2 separate regions of the Homo sapiens genome follow, and region 2 is linked to region 1. Evidence: promoter capture Hi-C in human tissues and cell types (Jung and others, 2019). All regions are on one chromosome and are shown on one strand. The core of a region is centred on a gene start or on the middle of the fragment in contact, and the rest is flanking DNA. Distances in the headings are between cores, read along the strand shown. Region 1 holds the start of SLCO1C1 (solute carrier organic anion transporter family member 1C1). Region 2 has its middle 160 kb from the start of LINC02398.

Region 1 (5,476 bases), core at 1,423-3,922:
AACTATTCCCTAAACAAAGATACTAAGGATAGATGATGCACCAGAAGTGCTTTATCAAGGGATATTCTTTGAGGAAAGATAGCCGATAATGGAAACAGATAATCATTGTCTCCATTAGTTTGACAAAAATAACATTATCTTGGTAACAAAACAGCACAAAGATAGCACAGAAAGGAAAACTTCAGATCAAGCCCATAGATTATAAAAATTCTAAGTAAATGCTAGCAAATCCAAATTAACTCTTGCTCTATGATTAGAATTATTCTAAAAGATGCAACAATTGGTTAATTACAGGAAATTTATTCACCTAAATTACCACATGAATAATTCAAAATAAAAAATAGAATTTCATTACATGAAAAACATCAGTTGATAAAATTCGACATCTATTACTGATTTAAAAAACAAAGTTTAAGAAATGAAGAATATAGAGATTCTTCCTTAACAGTATCTGATACCAACAGCCAACTTCCTATATCTACTGAGTCACTAGGACTACTTTTCTAGAACAGTATTTTGCCAGGACAAGGAAAACAGGGTTTGGGAAATGCAGAGTTATACAATGTTAAATAGGTATCTTTACTACAAAACTATGAGTAAAAATATTGCCAAGCAAGAGATATACAAACCAGAAAGGTTTTAAAATAAGAAACGGATAATTATTAAATTTCTGGCTTAAATTGCAATATTCTTCAAAGGATTAAATTATATAATTCAAATTGGCCTTCTGTTTTTGGGGATTCAGATATCATATTATTTCTCATCAGTCATAATATTAAAGTCAGTGACCAGAAAATACAAATAAATTGTTTAATAATAAAATCTGCTATCATTTATCCTAAATTTATCTTTAAAAGATCCAAAGTGTTACATCTAGAATGCTAATGTCAAAGAGAAAAAATAATTATGTTAAAAACACTACTGAAAAACTTGAGATACTATAGCACATTTTAAGTTATCTAATATATGGAGGTGTTGACACAAAAATCACTGTAACTAAAATTCAAAAGTATAATGAAATATAAATATAGTCATCTCAGTTCACTTTGTGTTAGGGCAAAATAGGATCCAGCTTAAACTATTGGCACTGCATAGCTTTACTGAAGTGTCTTGATGGTTAATGCGCAAATTATTGCAAGTGTAGTATGTTCCAAGGAGGCTACAGTTCATCCCCTGTAAAAAGAGAGGGAAGGAAGCTCAATGACATGAACGGAAAGATCCTTGGGGCCTGCAGGCTCTCTCTCTTCATTTGCAACTGCAGAAGTAGAGCAAGAGTACACAGTTATTCAGAATTATTTGCATTTGGCAAATCCTTAATTGATCTCTGGCCACTTGAATAGATTCTTCCAGGAAAAGACATACGACAGTTTTCATCCAATACCCTGGGTTTGGAGCATAACTTATTCTGGAGGCCAAAGAAAAACAAGCCAAGCAGTTTCTCTTCCTTTGGTTCAAAAACATTGAATAATCAGTCCTCATTAGTTTCAAAATCAGCCCTCCAGATTTTAAATGGAGAGAGCAAGTGGCTTAGGAAGGTTGTAGTTAGATCCCGCAGATGTACTCAACCCCTCTGCTCTGCAACTGACTCGGACTCTGTCCAGCAATCAGTCCCCAAGGACTGCCACAGAGAAAGTCCTAAAGGCAACCACGCTCCTCCCTCTCTTCTCTTGGCCATCTCCTGTGAGGAAAACCTCTGTCCTGGCTTGACTTCTGGACACCAGGATGCCTCCCTTCAGACAAACTAAAAAATAGCCTCACGGCACTTGCTGCAGAGGAGTGTGTGTTGTTTAGAAACTAATTTCTCACCTAATACAAATTATCTGTGTCAGATTCAGATTTAATAAGTACTATTTTTGTGTTGAGTAATGTACGTACTTTTTCTAATCCTTAAAACAACCCAACAAACGTAATATTAGAATTCCATTTTTTAAATTAGATGGCCCAAAGCAATTAAGTGACTTGTCAAAAGCTAAACAATTTATAAGCATGAGACTCAAAATTTGAACTCAAATTTGAGTTTATCTGATTTCTTTAACCAATCTTCTCTCTTATTTCCATCAAACTAATGAGGGGATCATCACCTTTCACTGATATTTTTATGGATAAAACATAAATCGCACAGAAATTAAGGGTTAATCTCCCATAAGAATCTGATGTATTAGTCACAAAATATAAAATGAGAGAACCAAGTCTTACCTGGAGGAAGAGATCAAAGATAGCCAGTTCCTTTCAATGTGCTCAGCAAGAGGATGGACCACACACCACAGACTGAAAGAGGAAACTGAGGTAAACTCCACAGCAATTTTGAACAATTTTGCCAGGTGGGGAGAGTGTGGGTGGACACAAGCAGAGGAGATTAGGGAAAAGAAAAGATGAAGGGCATGGTCTCACCCCTGAGCGATCTCTTCTCTTTCCTCTTTCTTCCTGGCCTCTTTTTTCTGGCAGTCAGCAGAGAATTGGCCACGCTGGCAAGGCCACTGACGTGCATCTCAGCTCCCAGGGCACAGAAAGAGCTGAAGCTTTTGAGCCATTTCTTTGCAATTTGCTGCAAGTTTAAGGCCACACGTGATAAAGCTTTCTTTATGGGAGAGAGTGAATAAAAGAAAAGACCACTTGTGATCTTACTTGCTGATTCCCAGAAAACACAACTCCGCAGGGGGCAGAGGGTAAGGAACAGAAGCCAGAGGAGGGCGGAAGTTTATAACAGAGACCCCTCCTCCTTCCAGAAAGTTTTTAAGCCAACTATTCCTTAGGGACATCACTGGGATCCTTGTGTTTTCTTTGTTTGTGTGTTTTGGTTTTGGTTTGTTTTGTTTTGTCTTTAACGGTTCTTGGGCTAATTTGCTACATGGTTTTCTTTTCCATTGGTGTTCTAGAATCTTTAAGGACCAAGTATCAGGTCACAATCAAAGCTCTGCAGCGCTCTGTACAAAAAGAGTTAATTCTCAGAGACATGATCAGTTGCTCATATTTACAATTTCTATGAGTTTTGAAAACAGAAAAGAAACACGTTGAATTTTTGGCATTCAATTGTTTATTCTGCCTAATTCCAAGGATAAATAAATCCTTGCACTGAGAAAGTCCACAATTCTAATACATTCTTTTTCCAAGAGAAAAACTTTAGAGGATCTTAAGCAGTAGTAGTTTGCATTTATTTTCTACCAATAAATAAATTTGCTACCAGAATTATCCAAGATTCACCCTACTCTTAAGTGGCTGAGACTCTGGGATGGTCACTTAATTTTACTGAGTCTCAACTTCTTCCTTTGTAAAGCAGAATTTTTTTGTTTAAAAAAAAAAAAAACAGATTTATAGGGCTGTTTTAAGGATTAAATTATATAATGTATTCAAAAGCACATTGCAAATGAGCGGAAGGTATCATCATTTTATATATATATATATTTAGTTCACATAATGGTCAGAATAGTTAATATTATTCAAGCACATTTTACTACAAAAGAAAGAAAAGAAAATGCAAGAAAAATGGGTTTATATTAAACCTTGCAATGAAGCAATGGTGTTTTCACACTCTGAAAGGCCAAATATTTTACTTTAACAATCAAACCAGACTTTTCCATCGGAAATAGTGAGCAAACATCCGAATACATTGAGTGTTAGTCTAGACTTCTCAGTGTCTAACAGGTGGCCAGACCACTGTTTTATTCAAGAGGAGACAGTATTTACCAGCCCAAAGGGCATAATTTTCCTCACCAAGAAATGAAATTCTCCCTTGAGAATGTAATTTTGTCTATTCCCAACTGGCTCAGTCTCACTCTCCAACACGATTCCTTTTCTTATTTCCAGAGTCCACAGTTAATGTTACTGTTTTGAATGCACATAATGTTTACACTTATTCAGAGCTTCTTATGTGCAACCTTGCATTGGATTGTAGCCTACTTCAGCCTTTCATTCCCATTTCCAAACTCTAGATGAGGGAGTTAACAAACTTCTATAAAGGGACAAATAAGAAATATTTTAGGTTTTGTAGGACCATGCAATCTCTATCACAACCACTCACCTCTGCCATTCTGGTGGTAAATTAACCACAGACAACATATAAATGAATGCATTTCCTAAGACTGCACTAACAAAGTACTACAAGCTGAGTGACCTAAAACAGAACTTTATTGTCTCACACTTTTGGAGGCCAGAAGTCAAAAATCAAGGTGTCAGCAGAGCCATGCTCCCTCTGAGACCTGTAGGGAAGAATCCTCCTTACCTCTTCCACCTCCTGGTGTTTGCTGACAGCCTGAACTCCTTGTTTTATAGGTGTATCACTCCAACAGCTGCTTCTGTTACCACATGGCCATCTTCTCCCTTTATGTCTCTGTCCTCTGTACTTAAAAAAACGCTAGTCATCTTTGGCTGGGGACCACCCTCATGACCTCATCTTAACTTGATAAGGTCTGCTAAGACTCTCTTTTCAGGAAAGGTGACATTCACAGGTACCGGGGGTTAGGACTTCCTCATATCTTTTTGGGAGACACAATTCAAGCCAGTACACTCATATTTTCATTTTCCTCCTTACTTGAATTTTTTCATGCAATTATTTTAATCACTTCCTTCTGTATACCCTCAATTCTCCTGTTTCTCTTTCAATTTATTGATCTTCCCAGGCAAAGCTCACCTCAGATAAATCCACTTTCTTTCTTCTTAGTATTTGCATCCGCACTGTTTTAAGTGATTGAAGAACAACTCAGTAACATGCCCTTAGGGCTTATTTTATATTTATAACCACTAAACTCACTGAGTCATAGAGGCATTGCTAGACGTAATACTTTTTAATGACCCAATCACTTTACCTCTCTCAAATCTTCATTTCTGGCTGCACCCTGATTATTAGCTGATGATCTTGTCTAGGAAATTCACTAACTAAACAGAAATATCAGGAGAAATATTATACTCTGTCCTCATGACATCTACTCTCTACCCAAATGTACATTGCTATTAGCTGTCTTCCTTCTTGCTCCTACAGTCCATGTTTCTAAGCCCAAACTTTAGTCACATTCCTTGTATATATTTCCTCTCCTCCAGTTCATTTTTCACCAACTCTAATCAGGTTTTGCCTTTACCACTCCAATGCAAATATTTTCATCAAGAACATTAAAGGCATTCACACTAATAAATCCAGTGATCAATATCCAGACCTCATTTTAATTGATGTATTAGCAGAATTGTATGTCATTAATGTGCCCTTCTCTTTGATACATTTTATTCACTTGGTTTCACCACACACCCCTGGTTTTCCTCCTACTTCAGTGGTCATTTGCTCTTAGTCTTCATTGCTAGAATATTCCAAAATTCAGTCTGTGGAATATCTTCTTTGCTGTCTATATTTACTTCCTTAATGACCTTATCTGGTGTCATGGCTTTAAATATAATCTATAATATAAGATCCAATGAGGTTAGGGAATATTTTGTATACCCAAATTTGAGTTGAGTTTTTCAGTCTGGAAAAATGTATACATATATACAG
Region 2 (5,476 bases), core at 1,731-4,230, 840 kb after region 1:
GGATCAAGGTGATTTTCCCGTGCTTCAACTACCTTCTAGAAGAAAATTAAAATCTCTCTGAAAGAATAAAGCATAAGCCAGAGCTTCTAGAAATATTTATACAAATGTCCAGCATTCATTTAACAATTACCAAGAAGCCAGAAAACAGAATCATGAGACTAAAAATTGGGGTGAGTGGGTTGACAATATAAAGGTAACCCAGATAGTGACATTATTAAGAAAAAGCTTAAAATATCAATAATTAATATGCTCACGAAAATACGAACAAAGATAGAGAATTTGACCAAAGAACTAGAGTTTATTTTTTTAAAGATAAATTTTAATTCTAGAAAATAGCCCAAACTAAGAATGGGATAGATGAATGTAACAGCGAATTAGACAAAGCAGAGAAAAAGAATAGTGAACATAGATGGGTAGAAAATATCAAGATTAAAATATATAGAGAAAAGAGGATGAAAAATACAGAAAAAAAAACCACAAGAAACATATGAAACCAAGTGAAAAGACCTAAAATGTACGCAATTAGAATCTCAGAAAAAGAATGAGAGACTAGACCAAAAGCAATCTCTAAAGAGGTCCTAAATAACAGTTTTGGAAAGCTGATGAAAATCTTCAGAATATGAATTCAAAACATATTATGAGATTCAAGCAGTTCAAATATAAAGAAAAGCATACCTAGGCACATCCAACAAAGAAAATTCTTAAAAGTGGCCAAAGGAAAAAGACACACTCCTTTTAAAGAAATATTAATAGCACCAGGGCTGATGAATCATTTTCAGTAAAAATGATGAAGGTCAGAAGGCAACATATTAACATTTGTAAAGTGCTAAAAGAAAATCATCATCAAGCTCTTACTCTATACCCAGGAAAAAAAAAATTTCATTAAAATATATGGCCATTATAGCACAAAAGAAGAAAGGTGACGGTAAATGAAATAATATGTGCTATAATTTCAGGATTATTTTGGAAATGAAAAATATACTAATTTAAGGTCTCTAAAATATTAAGGATATATATTGTATATAGGGGTTGAAATAAACAATATACTTTTAAATAATCCATGGGTCAACAAAAAAGCAATTTATATAAATAATACTTTCAACTAAATGATAATAAGACATATCAGAATTTGTGGGATGCAGCTATTAAAAATGTATAGCTTTGTAAGATTAATTTTAAAAAAGCACAAGTTATTACTATGAGTTATGAGAAAAGGAGACATCACTACAGAATCAACATAAAACGTAAAGAAATTACATTTACATGTTCTGTGGTGTCTATTACCACTTACTTCAACTATGGTATTCTATATTAAATAAAAGATACAGAAAGTACAGCCTGAGAAGTTTTATAAAGAAGTGCTTAGAGGGGGTAAACTGTTAGAAAAGGGGCCCTTGAGGGCTTGTCTTATGATTACATTTGCATAGTAATGCTCAGTTTTTATTTATGTGAATTTTTGTTTGGTATGGCCTAAACCTACATTTGCAGACCAAGAATTGTGCTTTTACTTAGAACATGTATTTATTTGAATGATGACAATTTGGAATGTGAAAAGCTTCCCTTCTGGCCACTCCCCTTTTCTCAACGTTTAAATTAATTTGTTCATGAGAGAGTTTCAAGCAAAGGCAAAAATAAAATCAAATAAAACAATTTGTAATGTTGTAATAATAATACTTTCATGAAATCAGCAGCTTTGCATGTTTTGTTATCTGCCACTAAAGTATCAAAGATAATAGTCATATGTAAATGTTTTTATTCCAATGCCTTTTAAAAAAAATAAGCACAAAAAAGGCAGGTGAATACATCATGAATTAAGCATGACCCCCTGTTATTGAAGCTCATTTACATCTATGGTTTCTACATGAGGTGTTATCATGGGGTCTGTGGTGAACTGAATAATAATAGCTCCCCAAATATATTCACATCCTAATTCCAGGCACCTGAAAACGTCATTTCATATGGCAAAATGGACTTTGCAGATGTGATCAAGATAAGGATCTTAAAATGAGAAGATTATCCTGGAGGACCTAGGTGGGCTTAACGTGATCACAGTGGTCCTCATAAGAGGTTCACAGAAGTGAGAGTCAGAGGGTGATGTGATGACAGAACAGAAACTGGAGCGATGTGCTTTGAAGATGGCAAAAAGAGGCCACAAACCAAGGAGTATAAGCAGCCATTAGAAGCGAAAAGGGCAAGAAAACAGATCTTCCCTTCAGAACATCCAGAAGTAATCAGCCCTGCTGACACCTTGATGTTATCCCAGTGAAAGTAATTTTGAACTTCTGACCTCCAGAAATGCCTAAGAGTAAACTCGTGTTGTTTTAAGCCATTACATTTGTGGTGATTTTTTTTATAGCAGATATAGGAAACTAATAGAGCATCCTAGTGAAATGGTTATCAAACCTGGTGCACAGCAGAATCTCACCTAGGCAGTCTGTGAAAAAAATACAGATCCTTGGATCCTATTCCTAAAAATTCTGATTCTCTGTATACCTGTGATGAGCCACAGGAATTCAAAATTGTTAAGAAGTTTCTCAGATGACTGTTGTGCTGCAAACCAGGTTACAAGTCAAAAGAAGGGTGCTTGGGAAGAATTCACTGCCTGAATTAGTTGCCTTGGGCTGCTATAACAAATTAACACAAACGTGAAGTCTCAAAACAACAGATATGTATTCTCTCACAATTCAGGAGACGAGAAGTCTGAAATCAGTTTCACAGAGTGAAAATCAAGGTGACCACAGGGCCATGTTCTCTGCAAAGGCTCCAAGTAAAAATTGTTCCTTTCCCTTCCAGTTTCTAGTGGTTGCCAGCATTCCTTGACTTGTGGCCACATGACGCCAGTCTCTGCCTCTGTGGTCCCATTGCCTCCTCTTTGTGTAGCAAATCTCCCTCTGCCTCTCTCTTATAAAGACACTTGTAATTGGAATTAGGGTACATCCAGTTACCAGGACAATATCCCCATCTCAAGATCTTTAGCTGAATCACCTCTACAATAACTCCTTTACTTTATAAGGTAACATTTGCAGGTTCCAGAAGTTGGGATCTGATATCTCAGCTTGACAATTATTCTTCCTAGTGTACTGCCTTAGTGCCCTTCAAGGTTATTTAGGGATTAAGACAGTAGAGCTGAAGAAACTTTCTATAATCTTTTTATATTCATATCCCTTCTGACCCTTTACAAATTACAATTATTCTACTAAAAAACAACCAGTCTCACTGGACTATTCTGTTGATTAATGAGGGTGATGATAAACAGGGAATATGGGGATTATTGGAAGAAGTAGGTTCCTAGAATTCAGTAGCATTTTTATTACAAGTTTCTATGCCCCTTTAAAAAACTGGCTTTTCATAAGGGTGTTCCTGAACATAAAAGTATTGCAACAAAGGAATCTTTATTAAAAATTTCTATCCCAGAGGAGTTTACTGCATGTGACTACAAACAGACTACAAGAAATGTTGGTTGGAAAGTTATTTTTTATGCAAAAGTACATTTCGAATTTAAATAAATCCAAGGTTCCTTTGCCCTCTTTTTTACCTCTAGGCAATCAAGAAATTTAGACTCTATGGTTCACTGACATGAGCATTCTTGTCCTGAGTGACTTTTTAAGGCTCTTCAGGTACATAATCCAGGAGAAAGATTAAACTCGAAGTCTAAGGAGGATACAACAAAATTCAGCCAGTGGCCAAAGAAATGTATATATTGTGGTGGTGATCCACAGAAATAATAATAAATAGTATAGATTTTATTTTCAAAAAAAAGTCCTCTTTCTTTCAGAAGGGCCAGTCCCCCATTCTAATATTTTTAACATCTCTGAAGAATAGGGCTTAAGGCCTTTCCCAACTGTAAAATGGTACCCTTTTCACAAATGTACAGTTTTATATCCTATTCTTTTAAAAAACATTTATAGCTCCTTTTACTATTCTCTACTGAAAATCTAAATAATTGTCCCCCTTAAAATACTTCATGGCATGGCTCTCAACAATCTAATTTTCATTTTAGCAGGCCATTATTCCCCCCTGAATAGCTTTTAGAAAGAAAAAAAATTTCTAATCTATCCCACCTGACACTGGCCACACTTTATTCTCTCTGTCCCTTTGATATTAAGGTGCATACCTTTGATATTCAGGCATTTGATAATGCCATGCCTGCATGGCATTATTCACTTGTCTTACTTCAGTTGGTAGAACGGGCTTCAAACTGGGCTCTGAGCTGATCTGCCAGTCTGCATCCTTTAAAATCCCCAGAGCAATAGGGAACAGTGTTGGCTAAGAACCACCTCAGCAGAATGACGTAGCAAGCTTGCAAAAATGCAGATTCCAAGGCACCGCCTTTGATTTACTAAATGTAATTTCTGGAAAAATAACTTGGGCGTTTTGCTTCATGCACTCTCTTCTGCTCATAAGCACCCAGGTTTTAATGGTTTGACGGCGCTATTCTGAAGGAATAAACTTGTCTGGGTTGGTGCCATGAAGTTAAGCAACATCTACAAGCCACTCAGTAACTGTGACATATCATCATTGCATTTTATTTATTTATTTATTTATTTTTAAATTTTTTTATTTTTTTTATTATTCTTATACTTTAAGTTTTAGGGTACATGTGCACAATGTGCAGGTTAGTTACATATGTATACATGTGCCATGCTGGTGTGCTGCACCCACTAACTCGTCATTTAGCATTAGGTATATCTCCTAATGCTATCCCTCCCCGCTCCCCCCCTCATCACTGCACTTTAAATGCTAACTCTATTTTTCATTCTTGAATTCCTGTCCAGTTTTATTCCTTCTTTTCAATCACCGTAACTTCATCATTTCCCAGAGAAATCCACTTCGTCATTTCCTGGAGAAATTCATCCTTACTCTTCGTTATTTCAGTGCCCAGTTTCATTTTCTAGAAACTTCTCCCTCATGTCCTTATCCCAGTCCAGTAAACCCTTCCAGAAAAACTAGGAGAGTGATCAGGCAAAGAAAAATCAAATTTCTAGAGGATATACTATTTGAAAACTTTGTTCTGACAAATGGAACAAGCAAAAGTAGCAATTTACCTGCTGTGAGCATATTTCAGACCAGAGAACTTAGCAGCAGGACCTAATTTCTCCTTGGTTAGCATAATAGAGAAAGCTAATTACAAGGGATTATTCTTAGGAAAGAAAAATCTAGTTCTGTGTTGTGTGACACAGAGAAACTCATTCTATCTGTAGAGATTTTGGTCGCTATAGCAACATGATAACAATTTAATCTTGTTCTGCTTTACTGAGAATAAACATTTTTTTCCAAAAGCCGTTTAATTTGTCCACCACAGACACAACTCTACACAAAATGCCATTGAAAGGAATACTTACCGTCCATGCTCGTCACACAAAAAAATACTGTAACCTCTTGAGCAAGACACTGAGAAAGAAAACCCAGTCATAACTGGGATAGAGAAGACAACTTTGCCTTAACACAAAGTAAAGCTGCTGCGTTCAAATGGTCT

What was found. The method cuts DNA at HindIII sites, captures the fragments that hold promoters and counts their contacts. A contact is called where the count stands out against the background at its distance.
Region 2: a fragment that was not itself captured here is called in contact with the fragment with the promoter of SLCO1C1 in region 1 in 4 of the 25 tissues and cell types used here (H1 embryonic stem cells, dorsolateral prefrontal cortex, liver and 1 more).

Annotation. Positions count from the first base shown.
Region 1 is chr12:20,692,528-20,698,003 of GRCh38, reverse strand. It overlaps SLCO1C1 (solute carrier organic anion transporter family member 1C1), which reads right to left and starts at 2,672. Exons shown (of 15, transcript NM_017435.5): 1 at 2,197-2,672. The HindIII fragment of the contact is 14,433 bases long and covers 1-5,476 here.
Region 2 is chr12:19,856,390-19,861,865 of GRCh38, reverse strand. No RefSeq gene overlaps it. Among named protein-coding and RNA genes, the nearest start is that of LINC02398, 160 kb to the left of the region's middle. The HindIII fragment of the contact is 4,180 bases long and covers 891-5,070 here.